Regions from separate parts of the Homo sapiens genome. Here region 1 is linked to region 2. The links are contacts of gene promoters, found by promoter capture Hi-C in blood cells and fetal thymus (Javierre and others, 2016). All regions are on one chromosome and are shown on one strand. The core of a region is centred on a gene start or on the middle of the fragment in contact, and the rest is flanking DNA. Distances in the headings are between cores, read along the strand shown.

Evidence for each region. Contacts are between HindIII fragments. The CHiCAGO score rates a contact against its expected background, and 5 or more counts as called.
Region 1: a contact is called between a fragment that was not itself captured here and the fragment with the promoter of TMEM168 in region 2, in 1 of 17 cell types (fetal thymus). The highest score is 5.2, in fetal thymus.

The regions. Positions count from the first base shown.
Region 1 is chr7:111,738,343-111,741,711 of GRCh38, forward strand. DOCK4 (dedicator of cytokinesis 4) reads right to left here. Exons shown (of 53, transcript NM_001363540.2): 46 at 3,198-3,319; 47 at 2,752-2,872; 48 at 1,054-1,135; 49 at 792-901. Among named protein-coding and RNA genes, the nearest start is that of DOCK4-AS1, 68 kb to the right of the region's middle. The HindIII fragment of the contact is 1,701 bases long and covers 1,114-2,814 here.
Region 2 is chr7:112,788,787-112,792,240 of GRCh38, forward strand. TMEM168 (transmembrane protein 168) reads right to left here and starts at 1,607. Exons shown (of 5, transcript NM_022484.6): 1 at 1,374-1,607. RefSeq lists an enhancer at 1,866-1,995. The HindIII fragment of the contact is 5,754 bases long and covers 1-2,728 here.

The DNA of each region.
Region 1 (3,369 bases), core at 714-3,213, 1.1 Mb before region 2:
ACAAATTGCTCCTATACTCATGGGTACCCAGATAGGAATCGATTGCAGCTCTTTTAAATAGGTCTAGGCAAAGGCAAAGACTGCTGGGCAGGAGAATGCTTCTCTTCAAGGGTATTTTCCTAGTTTAAGAGGTTCCCCCAGACTTCTGTTACATACACAGGGCATGCAAACACAGGCACTTTATTCACCCAACTACTTTGCATAATGTTTAAGAAGCAGCAATGAAATAGATCAAGGAGGGTAAACTTCCCATTTCCCTTTTAGCATCACTGCCAAGCAACTACCATGTGTCCCTATCAGAAATATGGCTCAGGGCCGGGAGTGGTGGCTCATGCCTGTAATCCCAGCACTTTGGGAGGCCAAGGCAGGTGGATCACCTGAGGTCAGGAGTTCGAGACCAGCCTGGCCAACATGGCAAAACCCCATTTCTATTATAAATACAAAAATTAGCCATGTGTGGTGGTGGGCACCTATAATCCCAACTACTCGGGAGGCTGAGACAGGAGAATTGCTTGAACCCAGGAGGTGGAGGTTGCAGTGAGCCAGGATTGTGCCACTGCACTCTAGCCTGGGTGACAGCGAGATCCTGTCTCAAAGAAAAAAAAAAAAAGATGGCTCAGGCAGAAATTTCTAACCATGGGCAGAAAACAGAGGTGCAATCTTCACCAGCTGGATTGGTCTGACACTGCCCAGCTGCTTGCTTTTGGCAGCTACCGCGTGTTTCTGCAGAGATAGGTAAGCAATTCCAGAATTGTCCTTGTTTTCTAGTTTCTCTACCCTACAAGGAGTACCTGCGAAGGCTCCACAGGTGTTGGATAGATGGCACTGCATGGTCTCTCTCTTGGTGACAGGCAAGAGTTTTCTCGGGAATGTTTGTGTTTGTCAGACAACAAAGGAGAAGCTGGGAAGAGAAGGAGAGAGAGGATCATCAGCATGGTAGTGGTGCTGCACCTGTTTGGAGGCGAGAGCCTGAACGTGTGGCAGCTGGCCACAGTTCCCAGGACTAGAAGGTTCTCTGGGCACCCTCAGTCTTCCCCACACTCTGGCACTGACCTCTGGCACTCGATGGAGCAGAACTTGTCACATTAGGTGAAGCCGAGTGAGTAGAACTCAAGCTTGAGGTAGATGGACTTGGCTGGAAACACACAGGGAGCTATTATCATACCCTGATTAAAGGCTTCCCACGACACTGACGTATTTGAAACAAAATCATCAACTTTTTTTCAAATTAGCAACAAAAAGTCCGTTTAACAATATAGAAAATCTTAATAACTTAGATTGACAAAGAAGTCTGCATGAATTAATGAAAAGTCTGAGATTTTGACTCCTGCCAAAGGAATGCCTTCGTGTTAGATTCAGCTATACACTGTGACTTCGTACCAGTTAGCAGTGCATTCCTTCATTGAGGTATAAGTAGAATGACTTCCAGCCTAGGGCCCAAAAACAGGCGAGTGCGTCTAAAAGGCATAAAATATGCCTTCTTGTTATCTGTACAAGTATGTTCAAAGCATGAATTTGGAAATAAGTGTTATGTCTCCTTTCCAAAGATAGTGGTGAGGAAAATTTCAGCTTAGTCTTACTGAACTATCATAAATGCCATATTAGTAGTGTTTAAATAAAATGTTTGCTTGCAGGAGTTATACTGGCTCTAAAATCCCTAAAAACTACATTTTTCTTGTATAAAAAAAATACCTTTGGAAACTTTCTGATATGTACATAAGTAAAGATAATTTTAAAACAGACCCTCAAATCATGTCTTTTTTTCTTTTTTCTTTGAGACACAGTCTCGCTTTGTTGCCCAGGCTGGAGTGCAGTGACATGCTCTCGGCTCACTGCAACCTCCTCCTCCCAGGTTCAAGCGATTCTCCTGCCTCAGCCTCCCGAGTAGCTGGGATTACAGGCATGCGCCACCATGCCCGGCTAATTTTTGTATTTTTGATAGAGACGGGGTTTCACCATGCTGGCCAGGATGGTCTCGAACTCCAGATCTCAAGGTGATTCGCTCACCTCGGCCTCCCAAAGTGTTGGGATTACAGGCATGAGCCACTGCACCTAGCCAAATCATGTCTTCTTAAAGAAAAAAAAAGCCATTTTGGAATGCTAAGAGGGGCCGGGCGCAGTAGCTCATGCCTGTAATCCCAGCACTTTGGGAGGCCAAATTGGGCAGATCACTTGAGGTCAGGAGTTCGAGACCAACCTGGCCAACATAGTGAAACCCCGTCTCTACTAAAAATACAAAAATTAGTCGGGCGTGGTGGTACACACCTGTAATCCCAGCTACTCACGAGGCTGAGGCACGAAAACTGCCTGAGCCCGGGAGGCGGAGGTTGCAGTGAGCCAAGATCGCACCACTGCACTCCAGACTGGGAGACAGAGTGAGACTCGCTAAAAAAAAAAAAAAAAAAAAAAAAAAAAAAAGGCAAGCTAAGAGGCAGCTAGTGAGTGGCAACACACTCTGAGAGTCCTGGACTGCAGAAGGAACTTGGGGCAGGTCTCAGAGCTGAACCTTGTGCAGCGTGCCTAGGCTTTTCCATCGCTTGCTGATGTCGTCTTAAAGCGATGGGGCAGTTTTAAGAGAAACGTCTTTGTAGACTCTAGAGACCCATAAAGCAAGAAGAGTGTTTAAAGGTTTGTCCTTAAGCCAAGTTCTTGCTTGTTGGTCTGTTCATCAGCACAGCAGAATGAACAGAAACACTCATGATTGAGACAGAAAAGGAATAAACACAACCAGACAAAAAGCTAATTAAGTACCTGCATGTTAAAGACTTCATCAGAGCTTTCTGATTGCCCTGTAATATTGCTTACTTCAGCAGAAGCTTGTGAGGACAGTGAGGAGGAAGAATATCGGTTGACAGCTGGGTAACTTAACGGGCTGTTTCAGGGGGAAAAAAAAGGTCATTAACTCAGTCTCCAAATTGTACTTTATCATGTGCTAGAATGCTATGAAACCAAAGGGGGGAAAATACATTCCGTTTTGTTTTCTCCTGTTTGCCTCAATATAATCAAATGTTTGAGTTTATTTATTTCTCATGCTGTTGCTGTTTTACTGGTGGCAGAGGTCTGCAGCTGCCTCGCGGGTTAGTTATTTCATTAAGAAATAGCGTATTTGACAAATTGTGCCATAAAGAATGAGAGAACCATTCCAGATCAGCTTGCGGGTGAGGCCAAATTGTAAGATAATTTGGAATATGACTTACCTGCGTCTAGGAATTACCCTGGTACCATCTGGGCTCACAGAAGCAGGTGCTGAGTTTCTACACACACGAGGGCTTCCATTAGGAAAATGGACAGGACTGGCTTGCATACAAGCAGAGAACTCCTAAAGATGTAGTAAAGGAAATATCTCATTACAGTAATGATTTGGGCAAA
Region 2 (3,454 bases), core at 357-2,856:
TCTTCCTAAACATTTTTTAAATGTTTCTACTTCTCGTCCCCAGGGTCACCATCCCAATTTTGGCCACCATCATGTTGAACATTTCCCTGTATCCACTCTTGCCCTCTCTAAGAAGTGTACTTTTTAAAACCAAAATTTAGCACTCCACTATGTAAAATGCTCCAATGGCGTCCCATCACCCTTAGCAATAAAGTCAAAACTCCTTACAGTGCCTTATAAGGCACTCCGTGTTGGGCCTGAATAACTCTCCTGCCTTATCTGTTACCAGTTTTCCTCTCACACTTTATTTTCCAACCTTACTGACCTTTCAATTACAAACTGCACAAATGCTATTCCCTTGCCAGGTACACTCCTTTTCCTCCTCCTGGCCCCACCCCAGTGCTCACACCTGGCTTATTCCAACTCTTCAGGTCTCAGATAAATCATTTTCTTAAGAGATTATCCCTGCCCCCTCCCCATTACATGACCCCCATACTTTCTCTGTTACATACCATCACTTATTTCATGTCTGCATTTCCCACTAGATCAAAAGGTCTCTGAGGGTTTGTCTTCAATACTGTACACCCAGTGACTAGCAAAAATCCGGCATCAAGAAGGTATTCAATAAATACTTGTTGAAAAATAAAGACTAATAAAGAAATAACTACATTTAACAACAATAGTCACCATTGGACACTTACTAATGCCTAAAGAGAATACAGAACTTAGCTATATCCCACAACTAATAACTAGTAGAACTAAGGGAGAGTCCATGAATGTTTGGTTTCTATTTCAGCTTTCCACCAGTCTTTACTTAATTCACCCAAATTCTTCCAAACCAATTCTCTCTCCATGTCCTACCTCTAGGGAATGGCTTGAGGCATACCGTATCACTTGCATTATCTTTCACTCAGAAACTCTGTCCCATCTAGAAGTGTCAAGGCTGAAAGAACTACACTGAAAAAACAGGGAATTTCAGTGCTTCAGTTCTGAATTACTGATAACTCTTTGAGCCATCTCATACGAGGAAAATGTCATCTAGAATATCAAACTCCTCAGCACTAGAGCAGCAACAGCAATTTCTCTCCCTTTCGGCCTCCTTCTAGCGAGATGTGGGAGGTCCGACAAGGAGCTTGGCTGTTCTCCACCATCCTCTGCCTCGGAGAACGCGACCACAACGTGGCGCCCAGTTGAGGGGGAACCCTTGCGAAATACGGAGAGGCGCTCCCACACCCTCCAATCTCCAACCACCACTGTCAACTCCTCCAGAGGCAGGTATCCTACCCCGGCCCTGGGAGGCCGACTGGGCGGAGCTTGGGGTCCGGACCACGCGGAGCCCTGGCAGTGTCTATGCCTAGATCTCGCCGCCCTGCCGTCCACCCATTTCTCCCTACCTGACTCGGCCGTCGCCACCAACGCGCTCTCCCAACCCTCGGAGTCAGTTCCAAAACCAAACCAAAAAGGAGGAGAGCAGACAAGGCTTCAGCCTGCGACTGAGAACAGGGAGGCGGCACGCCTTGGGGAACGAGGGCCCGAGGCCATACGCGCTAATACAGGCCAGTGTCGGCGTAAACTTTCTCCGTTACCGGCCCGGCCGCGACCGCCATGTTTCCGCCGCCGAAATCCGCGACGGTACGGAACGCCGCCGGGGTCAAACTGCGCGGCGCGCCTCCTTCCCGAGGCCCGGCCCCCTCCCCGCCCAAACCCGCGCGCCGCCACACACTCAGGTGAGCAAGGCGCTGCGCGAGTGTCAACTGCCCCACCTAAGGCGCCTGCCTTCCTCAAGCCAAAGTCGACTCCTGGGACCTGGAATCAGCAGCTGAGAACAGACAGCGGGAAGACCACCAAAGATCAGGCTGACAGTGCCCATCAAGCATCTAGGCCACCGCCTCGGGCTGGACCGAACGGGGACAGGGTGGACAGGACTGCCACGCGTGGGCTGTAAATACTGCGGGAGGCGTTGCTGCTCATTAATATATATGGCATAATATATGGCTTTGTAACCAGCTAAGGCCCAAGCTCCTTAGGCCCTCCCTCAGACCTTTCAGTTCCTCAAATGCAGGGACATGTCGGGTTTTGCTCAACATTAAATCACCTTAGCATAGTGCCTGACACATAGTTGGCACTTAAATATTTGTAAAATAATAATATGCAATAGGCTCTCCACGATCCGTAGTTCTCTCCTCCCACTTGTTTTGCATGTATTATCTATATATTTTTCCTATTTTCCATAATAGAGTGTGAATTTCCTAATTTTCATAATAGATGTTGGGGGTTGGTGTGGCCAGCACATCTATAGGAATGAACAACTCTCAGATTGAGATTCTGCATATGTGGATGAAAATTTTGAGTTAGATTCTCTCTAGACTCCTGATTTTAAAAGCAATCACAACTCAACTTCCCAAATCTGTAACTAGCTCTCTGGGGAACACGAGTGCCACATTTCCAACTACCTGCTAGATGTTTCTACTCAAATATATTGTCATCACTTCCAACTCAACTTGCCTTTAATGGACATTTATATACATTTATTATGCCCCCCATTTGAATCCCCTTCCGTATTTGGAGAATTCCCCACCTGAGTTAAGAGTCTAATGGCTGCCGCTGAAATGCTGAACACTTGTTTAACTAATCATGTGTACCCGCTGGAAGCCATGAGTCAAAAAAGGCACAGAAAGCTACACTCCCAGGTCACCTGTAGGAGTATAGCAAGTGTAGAGATCGAGAACCCATCCCTAACAGCAAGGTAAGCTTCCGAGGCAGTAGTGAGAGTGCTGGCATCCACCATTAACATGTCAGAGATGCAAGATGCCTGTGCTTGGTGAGGGTCACAACCCCAGAGCCCTTTCCCAATCTGTTCTGTAGCCTGTTAACAGTCTCTGTGTACATTTCTGGGTAGCCTGTGACAGACTCTGTACTACATAGCTGTGAGGCAGGACAATAGGGTCTGGAGGCAAGGAACTTACGGCTGATTCATGCTGACTTTCTAGAACTAAATCAAAAGGAAAGCCCCAACTTTCCACAGCTAAGTAACAAAGGGACCCGGCCCCCTCCCCCACCACCGCCCTTTTCTGCGTGGCAGACGGAAAATTGAAAGTACCTCGGATTGGTTGCTTTCCATAACTAATTAAATGTTTGCATAGGGTGTAACCTTTGTAACTTCGCTTCAGGCTCTGATTGGTTGCTTTCCGCTATCAGACTGATTGTGGGCCACTATATTTGCGTGGGGTGTACACCAAGTGGCCAATGGGAAACCTCTAGAGGGTGTTTATACCCCAGAAAATTCTATAACCCGGCCGCCCCGCTCTTGAGCCCCATGTTCCGGCTCTTCACACCCTGTGGAGTGTACTTTCATTTTCAATAAATCTCTGCTTTTGTTGCTTCATTCCTTCCTTGCTTTGTTTGTGCGTTTTGTCTAATTCCTTGTTCAAGATGCCAAGAACCTGGACACCTTCCACCGGTAACAGCCAAGGTA